Regions from separate parts of the Homo sapiens genome. Here all the other regions are linked to region 1. Evidence: promoter capture Hi-C in 16 types of primary human blood cells and fetal thymus (Javierre and others, 2016). All regions are on one chromosome and are shown on one strand. Each heading gives the region's core, a stretch centred on a gene start or on the middle of the fragment in contact. The rest is flanking DNA. Distances are from core to core; before and after follow the strand shown. Region 1 holds the start of PAWR (pro-apoptotic WT1 regulator). Region 2 overlaps OTOGL (otogelin like). Region 3 overlaps OTOGL (otogelin like). Region 4 overlaps OTOGL (otogelin like).

What was found. The method cuts DNA at HindIII sites, captures the fragments that hold promoters and counts their contacts. A CHiCAGO score of 5 or more calls a contact.
Region 2: a contact is called between a fragment that was not itself captured here and the fragment with the promoter of PAWR in region 1, in 1 of 17 cell types (megakaryocytes). The highest score is 6.4, in megakaryocytes.
Region 3: a fragment that was not itself captured here is called in contact with the fragment with the promoter of PAWR in region 1 in 1 of 17 cell types (megakaryocytes); the score reaches 8.9 in megakaryocytes.
Region 4: a contact is called between a fragment that was not itself captured here and the fragment with the promoter of PAWR in region 1, in 1 of 17 cell types (total CD4 T cells). The highest score is 5.9, in total CD4 T cells.

Annotation. Positions count from the first base shown.
Region 1 is chr12:79,689,696-79,692,395 of GRCh38, forward strand. It overlaps PAWR (pro-apoptotic WT1 regulator), which reads right to left and starts at 1,269. Exons shown (of 7, transcript NM_002583.4): 1 at 1,177-1,269; 2 at 34-696. The coding sequence starts at 549. It overlaps PPP1R12A-AS2 (PPP1R12A antisense RNA 2), which reads left to right and starts at 337. Exons shown (of 7, transcript NR_187531.1): 1 at 337-701. RefSeq lists silencers at 1-496, 1,267-1,566. The HindIII fragment of the contact is 6,027 bases long and covers 1-2,611 here.
Region 2 is chr12:80,221,892-80,224,591 of GRCh38, forward strand. It overlaps OTOGL (otogelin like), which reads left to right. Exons shown (of 59, transcript NM_001378609.3): 7 at 200-354. Among named protein-coding and RNA genes, the nearest start is that of OTOGL, 120 kb to the left of the region's middle. The HindIII fragment of the contact is 1,260 bases long and covers 768-2,027 here.
Region 3 is chr12:80,204,214-80,207,061 of GRCh38, forward strand. The region is part of intron 1 of OTOGL (otogelin like); the gene reads left to right. Among named protein-coding and RNA genes, the nearest start is that of OTOGL, 110 kb to the left of the region's middle. The HindIII fragment of the contact is 1,592 bases long and covers 647-2,238 here.
Region 4 is chr12:80,278,293-80,280,992 of GRCh38, forward strand. It overlaps OTOGL (otogelin like), which reads left to right. Exons shown (of 59, transcript NM_001378609.3): 26 at 736-874. Among named protein-coding and RNA genes, the nearest start is that of PTPRQ, 160 kb to the right of the region's middle. The HindIII fragment of the contact is 3,705 bases long and covers 1-2,700 here.

The DNA.
Region 1 (2,700 bases), core at 19-2,518:
GCCCGGTCCGGCTGCGGCCCCCGCCCGGCTCACCTCTGCGGCAGGGATGTTGACCACGCCGGTGGAGCGCCGCTTCTCCCGCAGCTTCCTCTTCTCGATCTGCCCCTTGCCTTTCCTGGCACTGGGGCCCGAGCTCTTGCCCTTCTCTGGGACGCCGTCCGGCTCCTCCTCGTCACGCTGGGGCGGCGGTGCAGCCGAGGCAGAGGCGGCTGGGGGCTCGTCCTCCGACCGCCGCGGGCCGGGGGCCGCCCGCGTCAGCATGGCGGAGCCGACCGCGCAGTTCACGCCCCCGGGACCGGGGACGGCAGGTGCGGCCGGCGCGCCGCCCGGGAGGTTGTTGTTGAGCTCGTTGGCAGCGGCGGCCGCCGGGGTGCCCAGAGCCCCCGCGGGGGGCTTCCCAGCGGCGTCGCTGCTGCCCCCTCCCGGGGGGGCCGGGCCCGGGGGGTTCTGCTTGGCGCGCATCTTCTCGCGTTTCGCCTTCCACTCCTCCAGGAAGTCTGTGGTGCTGCCGCCGAGGCCGCTGCTGGTCCGGTAGCCACCGGTCGCCATATTCCCAAAGGGGCCGGTCGGGCTCTCACCTCAGGCCGCCCACCAGGGCTCCGGCCGCTGCCTCCTCTTCCTTCCTGCGGCCCCGAGGATGCCAGGAGACGACCTCCAGGAGAGGGACGGCCGCCGCTCCCACAGCAGCCGGCGGGGCTGAGGTGAAAGACAAAAGGGGGCGGGTAAGGGAAGCGTAAGATCCCCGCCCGACCCAAGGGTCTGCCCCCGGGCTGCGCCCCTTGGAGTCCTCGAGCGCGCCCACCAGTCACTACCGGCCAGCAGCCGCCGGGTCCCCACCCTGCAAAGTTTCTCCCACGCACCTACAGTACGGACCCCGACGATCGCCGCCCCTAGAAGGGAGGAGAGAGGACTGACCCCACCCCCAAGTCGGCCCGCCCGCCCCATCCCCACCAAGGTCCGCGCCGGCGGCGGTCGAGATACTAGGGCTAGACCCGCCACCTGTCGGCTCGTCGTATCGCCTGCTCCGCGCTCTAGCCACCGCCGGTCCGAGGTCCCCGTCAGCTACAACCCCACTCCCAAGGCGAGGCGCGGAGCTCCTAGCCGGTTCGCAGAGGAGGCGGGGACCCAGCTGTCCCGCCGAGCGTGGAAAGGACCGGGTGTGAGCGAGCGCCTTACCTTGGAGGAGCTTGTAGGGGACGAGGCGTAGGGCTGGGATCCGGCTCCCAGGTGTGCCGAAGCTGGCGCGCGCTCTTCCGCCGCGCGGAAAGTGCCGCGGCAAACTCGCGGTGCGGAGCTCCAGGCAATCCCAGGACAGGAGGGAGGGAGAAGAAGGAGGGAGGGAGGGAGGGAGGGAGCCAGGGGCGGGAAGGGAGCCGAGCGGCGCCGAAGCACGAGCGGAAAAGGCCGAGGCGGCGCGCGAGGGGCGCGGCGCGCGGTGGGAAGGGTCGTGGCCGCTGACGCCCCGCCCCCGGCGCTCAGGTGCGCGGCGTCGCGTCCGGCCCGCCGCTGCAGCCTGCCCTGCGCCAGCCGTCCTCTGCCCCGCTCCCGCCGCAGACCACAGCGCGCCCGCCGCGCTCCGCCCGCGGCCTGCGAGTTAGACGGCACATTCCTGGGCTAGCAGCTTCGCGGCGTCCGGCCTCCCGGCGCCTCCGACTCCGGGGCGGGAACGGCACTCCACGCCCTTCTTGCTTGTCTTCTCCGCCTCTCTCTTCTCCCACCACTCTTCCTTTTAAGTACAAGACCGTATTATTTGAGAGAAAGTCTCGAACGCTGCTGGCTAAGGGGAAAAGTGCGATAACTTGTGATGATTCAGGGAATGACTAGACAGGATGGGAAAATACCCACGTGTCTCTTTTCCTAGTCGCTGCTCCCTTTTCAGATGTACTAGGGCAGCGGGCAGGAGAATAGAAAGACCTGAGACAAACCCAGCACCCTCCTTCTAAGAAAACTGCGGTGCCCTGGTGAAAAGGGTTGGCTAAGAGGAAGGACTTACTAGTATCTTAGGGTTGCGGGAGAAAAAACTCAGTTCGACAGTTTATTGTATTGGCGATTCCAGTCTTGGAGTTTTCCCCTTAACCCTGTCTCTGCCTCTCCTCTTTACAGAGAATGAATTTAGCAGCAAAGCTCCCTACCAAAGTACTAACGCTGCACTGATGCTAATTTGAGATGAGCTGGGGCAGTGATTGTCTCTATTTTTTCATTATTAACATGCCAGAGGCTTATCCTCTGATGCAAGTCATCTGAAATTTCTGGATCAGAGCGGGGTGGGCTGTCACTGACGCACCTAAGACTGACCTTTCTATATCCAAGTAATGTCAGGGCACATCATTGTGGGAGGCTACAAATGCCAGGTCTCCATTTTGTAAAAAAGTAGGAGAGCCCTAAGTCACGCTCTTACCTAACATAAACCTTTCTTCCTACTTAATATTCCTGTTTTGCCCAGGTAGCACATGATGAGTGAGCAATCAGTGTTTGCCTGCCACAGAACTGGGAACAGAAGAAAGTGATTCACATGCTCTATATTTCTCAGGGAAAGACAGTTTTGGTCTTTGGTCTGGCTGTTGTGGGAAACGTATGGCGAGAGCTCTGGAAAAATCCTTAGAAAATTAAAAGCTTTTGTTGGGAATAGGTCTAAAAGGCTGAGCGGCTGTTTACCTAAGCTAGTACCAACCCCAGTGTGCCACCTGAAGTTTCTCAATT
Region 2 (2,700 bases), core at 148-2,647, 530 kb after region 1:
TTGGAGACCCTGTTTTTCTTCAGGGGAGTTTGATAGTTTTGAGAGCAACTGTTAATTTTATGTTAGTTATTTCTTCCTGTGTTATAGACCAAGGAAGGAAATTTGAATGAAAATTAGAATCATTTACCATGACTGACTGAACATTGCTAGAAACGTGTAATTTATTTTGCCTACAAAATATTATCCTGTTTCTTTTCAGTCCCAAACATGGGCAACGGCAGAGATGGGATTTGTAAAACCTGGGGACAGTATCATTTTGAAACATTCGATGGCATCTACTATTACTTCCCAGGAAACTGTTCTTACATTTTTGCAAAGGACTGTGGTGATTTGGAGCCTCGGTACACTGTATGGGTAGGTGATTGTAGGACATGATTAACTTAAAAATATTATCTCTGGAAAAGTATGTATTTTTAAAGTACTGGGAAAATGATGCAAAATATATACTAATAATAGAATGAATACTTATTTTGAAGAGGGTCTGGGTTCAGTTACGAACCATATTACTCACACTTCCTTCCTTCCTGATACTTCCAGTGAGATATGTCCAGCTGGTTTAGTTTTTTGAAATGACACCCTCAGTATGAACCAGAGGCTAACATTTATAAAATGGAGTGTATGAGTTACATAAGCACAGGCTATCGGATGTGAAGACTGACAGCTAATTGCTAGGTAGTTTGATACTATATGACTGAACTCAGAGAATTAATTCTTAGTTGCAGAATTCTTGATTCAAATGAATTCTTAGGAGACCTCTCGAAAATATAAGCTTCAGAGTGGCTCTAGTTGAATAAGGATGTCAGGGACCTCTTTCTTTGCCTACTATCTTCTGAATTTCTAGGTATTTCAATCACTACCAGGAAACTGCTATGTTGTTGGATTTAAAAGCTACAACTCTCCATAGTCAAAACATATTTGAATCTCTGTTATGCTTTCCCTTTTTACTTACGTTGGGGCTGCCTACATTCTCCTCCTTTCTAAGGTGATGCAAATATTAAAAGTAGGCCCTGAAACTTCTTTTTTTTCATAGGTTTTTGGGGGAAGAGATGGTGTTTGGTTACATGTTGATTTCTGAGATTTTAGTCCACTATCCCCTGAGCAGTGTACATTGTACCCAATGTGTAGTCTTTTACCCCTCATCACCCCCCAGCCTTTCCCCTTGGTCCCCAAAGTCCATTGTGTAATTCTTATCCCTTTGCATTCTCATAGCTTAGTTCCCACTTACGAGTGAGAACATATGATGTTTGGTTTTCTATTCCCAAGTTACTTCACTTAGGCTAATGCTTTCCAATTCCACCCAGGTTGCTGGAAATGCCATTATTTTGTTCCTTTTTATGGCTGAGTAGTATTCCATGGTGTGTGTGTGTGTATGTATATATATGTATATATATATGGCATATATGTATATATATCATATTTTCTTTATCCACTCATTGATTGATGGGCATTTGGGCTGGTTCCATGTTTTTGCAATTGTGAATTGTACTGCTATAAACATGTGTATGCAGGTATCTTTTTTTGTATAATGACTTCTTTTCTTCTGGGGAGATACCTAGGAGTAGGATTGCTGGGTCAAATGGTAGATCTACTTTTAGTTCTTTCAGGAATCTCTATACTCTTTTTCATAGTAGTTGTACTAGTTTAAATTACCAACAACCGTGTGAAAGTGTTCCCTTTTCACCACATCCATACCAACATCTATTATTTTTTGATTTTTAAATTATGGTAATTCTTGCAGGAATAAAGTGGTATTGTATTGTGGTTTTCATTTGTTTTTCTCTGATAATTAGTGATGTTGATAATTTTTTCATGTTTGTTGGCCATTTGTATACCTTCTTTTGAGAATTGTCTATTCATGTCCTTAGCTCACTTTTTGATGGAATTGTTTGTTTTTTTCTTGCTAATTTGTTTGAGTTCCTTGTAGATTCTGTATATTAGTCCATTGTTGGATGTATAGATTGCAAAGATTTTCTTCCACTCTGTGACTTGTCTGTTTACTCTGTTGATTATTTCTTTTGCTGCATAAAAGCTTTTTAGTTTAATTAAGTCTTGTCTGTTTATATTTGTTTCTGCTGTATTTGCTTTTGGGTTCTTGGTCATGAATGCTTTGCCTAAGCCAATGTCTAGAAAGCTTTTCCAATGTTATATTCTAGAATTTGTATGGTTTCACGTCTAGATTTAAGTATTTTATCCATCTTGAGTTGATTTTTGTATAAAGTGAGAGATGAGGATCCAGTTTCATTCTTCTGCATGTGGCTAGCCAATTATCCCAGCACCATTTGTTGAATAGGATGTCCTTTCCCCACTTTATGTTTTTGTTTACTTTGTCAAAAATTAGTTGGCTGTAAGCATCTGGCTTTATTTCTGGATTCTCTGTTGTTCTATATGACTGTTTTAATACCAGTACCATGCTGTTTTGGTGACTATGGCCTTATACTATAGTTTGAAGTCGGGTAATGTAATGCCTCAAACTTTGTTCTTTTTGCTTAGTCTTGCTTTGGCTATGTGGCTTTTTTGGTTCCATATGAATTTTATGATTGTTTTTTCTAGTTCTGTGAAGAATGATGGTGGTATTTTCATGGGAATTGCATTGAATTTGTAGATTGCTTTTGGCAGTGTGGTCATTTTCACAATATTGATTCTACCCATCAACGAGCATGGGATGTGTTTCTATTTGTTTGTGTTGTCTATGATTTCTTT
Region 3 (2,848 bases), core at 193-2,692, 510 kb after region 1:
ACTGATTTGTGCTGTGTTGAATATCACAGTAATGCCATATCTCCAAAAGCAGTTTTCCATATCAATCTTGCCAATATAGGGGAAGCAGAAGATGATAGGCTAACGTTTGACACTCCAGTGGCTCTTGTCATAAATCAGATTGCCAGGTGTCTGATTTGGAACCTTGGTGTTGTATGAAGTCATCCAATCACGACATTTTGGGATTTGACAGGTTTTGTTTTATAGTTTAAATAATTGGATCCAAGTATAGCACGCTTTCTTTACAAATTTACAGTTATTTATTTTGAAGAACGTTTGTTTGTAAGTAAGCTAAGTAAGTTGTAATTAAGTTGAAAAAGTAAGAAAGAAAATATATAAAGTAACCTAGAAAATAAAAGCGTGTAATTTTTGATGCTTGGTGGTTTGGTTTTAATAATATGGCAGATTACATGATATAAAAATCTTCCAAGTATAAAGTACTTGGAAGTACGGAATTTAATAAAATAGTCAACCATGTAAATGGTTGAATAAGTTCACTAGAATGTAAGGAATATTACCAGAGACCAGAAACAAAACAGAAACTGGACTTGGTTTACTTTACTTTATGTTTGGGATTTGAATTTATATTCTGTGGTCTGTGAACCCTTAAGCTGAGAAATTAACATGAAGCTTCCTGGAGCACTTGGCAGAAGTTGGTACAAAATCTTTTTTGGAGGGGAACATACTCAACTTTGGTGGTAAAGGATTCCCATATAAAATGCCCTGCCAGACATGGACCCCAAATTCAAAATTACAAAATCCATGAAGTCATCTATCCTAAGTGAGAGAAACGAACAACAAACAACAAGATTAGAACCACCCCTACTGCCACTAAAAAATTGAAATAACATTCTTTCTCAACAACTCTAAAGTAAGTACATAAAAATTATTGAAGATATAAAGGAATTCAAAGCATGAGAAACCAACTTTATGGTATTAAATAGTGCCTTACATTAATATTTTCACTATATGGTACAAGTGCAAAGTGTTGTAGTAGTTCAGAGAATGAAGATAGCTGCAGAAACTGAACTCGATGCTAAAATGTTGACAAGAGAAAACTTTAGTTGAAGAAACATTACTTCTTTCAAGGTATCAATTAGATATTACAAATCAACGGCATCACAGCAAGTTGAAAAACAAATGTCGCTATAAAACATAACACATTAACTTCTGGGGATGAGTGTTAAATTGAAATCATGACCAACACAGATACTGCTTATGAAATATAATCATATCCTTACTCAGAAAAGGTAAGATAGATGCTACTTCTAAAATTATATGAAACATCCCAGAAACTGCCAAGCAACACACATCCAGAAAGCACAAATAGAATACTACAAACTATCTTGTAATAAGACAGTTACATTCAGAGTGGCAAACATCATTTTAAAGATACAAGATTCTATTTGCTGGCTCAAATGATAACATAAATTCTGGATAAAATCTATGAACTTGAAATGTGTTAGGTTTAGTAACACAAGTAAAGAGTATTTGCATTTCACTAGCAGAATGTGATATTACGGGAGTCAAATGTTATCTACTTTAAATTTGTTGTCAATTGATGAAAAATGAGTGTTATGTAAATCACCAAAGAAATTAACTTTCCTCAAAAATGATGAGCTTCATTACAAATATCCCATTATTATCATTGACATATATACTCCTCAATAAAAATTTTCCCATTCTTGCCAGTTGTTTTAATGTGTTGGGTTGAGGCCAATAGGCTGTCAGGTGTCACTTTCTAAAGATCATATTCCATGTGGGAAAATGTGCAGTGCTTTTGTAGCAGAAAGGGAACTGTTTATTGCTTGTATTATGTAGTTGTCTCAGACTTCTTATGAACTTAATATCACTTCACAAGCTGGTGGCTGGCTTACTTTTTGCCAAAGTTCTTTTGTCAGGGTGGAATGAAATATAAAAGCTGTCAATTACATTTTGACAGTAATAATTACATGTAGCAACAGTCATAAATTCTGTGTTTTGTGGCTCTGAGTCTAATCTTTCATCTAAACTCTCTTCTATTGCAGCTATTTAAGGAAGTCTGTTTTGCTTATTTTCATGCAGGCTACCATTTCATATATCGAGTTCATAATGTAGTTAGTTGAAAAAGGACTTGGGATTTTTGTTATTGTTCTCTTTGCCATTGTTCATTCTCCTTTTCTAACATTTTTCCTACTATGAGCCTGGATGGAAGAGGAGCAGAGAGAAGACATACACCAAAGCTTGCTCTATCTATAAAATAGTAACAACCCTGAGGCTTCCTCTTACAAATTCTACTATTTTTTTCTTTATTTTTTGAGACAGGGTCTTGCTCTGTTGCCAGGCTGGAGTGCAGTGGTGTGACCTCAGTTCACGGCAACCTTGACCTCCTGGGCTCAAACGATCCTTCCACCTCAGCCTCCATAGTAGCTGGGACTACAGGAGCATGCTACCATGCCCAGCTAATTGTTTTGTATTTTTTTTTTTTTTTGTAGAGGCAGAGTTTCATCATGTTGTCCAGGCTAATCTTAAACTTCTGAGCTGAAGTGCTCCCTCCCAAAGTGCTGGGACTACAGGCGTGAGCCACTGTGCCTGGTCAAATTCTACCAGACAAAACCACTTAACAGTTTTTAAATACATATAGTTCAAAATAGAAAAATAGTCATAAAAACATCAAATAATACAGGCTTGAACTTTTCAACTTTATTCAGTGAAAATGACTGTGATGCTTTTGAATAAAAACTTTAAAGATACTATATGAAACTTGAGATGAAAAGTTCAGAGTTACTACATTTTAATTAAGTACATACGAATACCAAAGTTTGTATCAGAAACACATAATTTTCACATG
Region 4 (2,700 bases), core at 30-2,529, 590 kb after region 1:
TTTCACAAATATTTTCCTAAGTAATTGTGTAAATTTCAATCATCTTTTATTTATTTAATGAGACTGACATCAGCAAAAAGTAAATCAAGCCTCAGCAAATAATTTAAAGGCCTGCAGGAGTTGGTGGACAGTTACTATCTGCAGGGGACTATATCATTATTTTTATGCATATTTGTTCAGCCCAGAAGAAAACTGTGAAACACAACAATCTAAAATTTTAATAGGAAAAAATATCTCATGTTTATAAGAAAGTGCTAAATGTTACAAAGAAAAGACCGTATTTAATGGAAGGTTTTCTGTTTCAAGGTAAGTCAAAAGAATACCATAAAATAAAATTTGAAATATAATTTCCCTAAAATATGGACAAAGATTCTAAACTCATGAGCAATGTCATGTCTAATGCATTTAAATTTACTCAAATATGGGAGATGGCATTGTGCTTTTTCAGCTACCAGCAGACCTGTGTTCAGTTTTTCATTCTATCATCTACTTTCTGTGTGACCTATGCACAATTCCTAGGCTCGGTTTTGGTGTCTGATAATTTATTTAAAGGAAGTGAAAAACGTATGCCTAATTTGTCAATGTAATAGGTGGTATCAGAATGAACTGGCAATATTCGTAAGGGATATTGACTCATGAATTCTCTTGAATACAGACATTCCAATGTTGCTGTCACTTGAAATCACTAGTTAGAGTCGTTTCTTTAGAAAGGTAACTTTTGTTATTTTTTAATAGCGTTTGTCGACGAGGAATGTTCAATTGCACATATTATCCATGCCCAGCAGTGTGCACAATATACGGGGACCGACATTATTATTCTTTTGATGGACTAGAATATGACTATATCAGTGATTGCCAGGTGTTTTTGATAAAGGTAGGTCACAGTTACACATTTTTATTTGCATTCGTGTAAAGATTTAATGTAAAAAACAAGTATGCTGGTCCCTGATATATCAAATTCATGTGTTATTTATAAAACCTATAAAACAATTATATATATTTTCAACTTTTATTTCAGGTTCGGGGGTACTTGGGAAGGTCTGTTAATGTGGGTATATTACATGTTGCTGGGGTTTGGTGTACAAAGAATTTCATCATGCAGGTAGTAGCATAGTACCCAATAGATAGTTTTTTGACCCTTACCCTCCTCCCATCCTTCACCCTTAAGTAGTAGGCCCCAATGTCTATTATTCCCCTCTTTGTTTCCATATATACCCAATGTTTAGCTCCCACTTATAAGTGAGAACATGCGGTATTTGGTTTTCTGTTCCTGTGTTAATTCACTTATGATAATGGTCTCCAGCTGCATCCATGTTGCTGCAAAAGACATTTCTTTCTTATGGCCATGTAATATTCCATGGTGTATATGTACCACATTTTCTTTATCCTTTCCACTGTTGATGGGCATTTAGGTTGATTCCATGTCTTTGCTATTGTGAGTAGTGCTGCAATGAATGTATGCATACATGTGTCTTTACGGTAGAATGATTTATATTCCTTTGGGTATATACACAATAATGGGATTGCTGGGTTGACTGGTAATTCTGTTTTAAGTTTTTTAAGAAATTGCCACACTGCTTTCTACAGTGGCTAAACTAATTTACATTCTCACCAGCAGCATATAGCAGTGTATAAGCATTCCCTGTTCTTCGCAACCTTGCCAACATCTGTTTTTTTTTGACTTTTTAATAATAGCCATTTTGACTGCTGTGAGATGATATCTTATTATGGTTTTGATTTGCATTTCTCTAATAATTAATGATGTTGAGCATTTTTTCATATGCTTGTTGGCTGCATGTATGTATTCTTTTGAGATGTGTCTGTTCATGTCCTTTGCCCATTTCTAATGGGGTTGTTTTGTACTTATTGACTTGTTTAAGTTCCTTGTAGATTCTGGTTATTAGGCCTTTGTAGGGTGCATAATTTGCAAATATTTTCTCCCATTCTGTAGGTTTTCTGTTTATTTTGTGGACATTTCTTTGGGTGTGCTGAAGCTCTTTAGTTTAATTAGGCCCCACTTGTCAATTTTTGTTTTTGTTGCAATTGCTTTAGGTGTCTTTGTTATGAAATCTTTGACAAGGCCTACATCCAGAATAGCATTCCCTAGGTTTTCTTCTAGGTTTTTTATGATCTTAGGTCTTACTTTTAAGTCTTTAATCCATCTTTGGTTGATTTTTGTATTTAATGCAAGGAAATGTTCCAGTTTCAACCTTCTGCATATGGCTAGCTGGTTATCCCAGCAGCATTTATTGAATGGAGAATCCTTTCCTCATTGCTTATTATTGTCAGCTTTGTCAAAGATCAGATGGTTGTAGGTATGTGGCTATGTTTTTGGGTTCTCTAACCTGTTCCATTGTGTCTGTTTTTGTGCCAGTACCATGCTGTTTTGGTTGTTGTAGTCTTGTAGTATAGTTTGGAGTTGGGTAGTTTGATGCTTCCAGCTTTGTTCTTTCTGCTTAGGAATGGCATTGAATTTGTAGATAGCTTTGGGAAGTATGGCCATTTTAACAATATCGATTCTTCCTACTCATGAGCATAAAATGTATTTCCATTTGTTTGTGTCGTCTTGATTTCTTTCAGCAGTGTTTTGTAATTCTTGTTGTAGAGATCTTTCATTTTCCTGGTTAGCTGTATACCTAGGTATTTTTTTTTTGTGTGTATGGCTATTGTGAATGGAATTACATTCTGGATTTTGCTCTC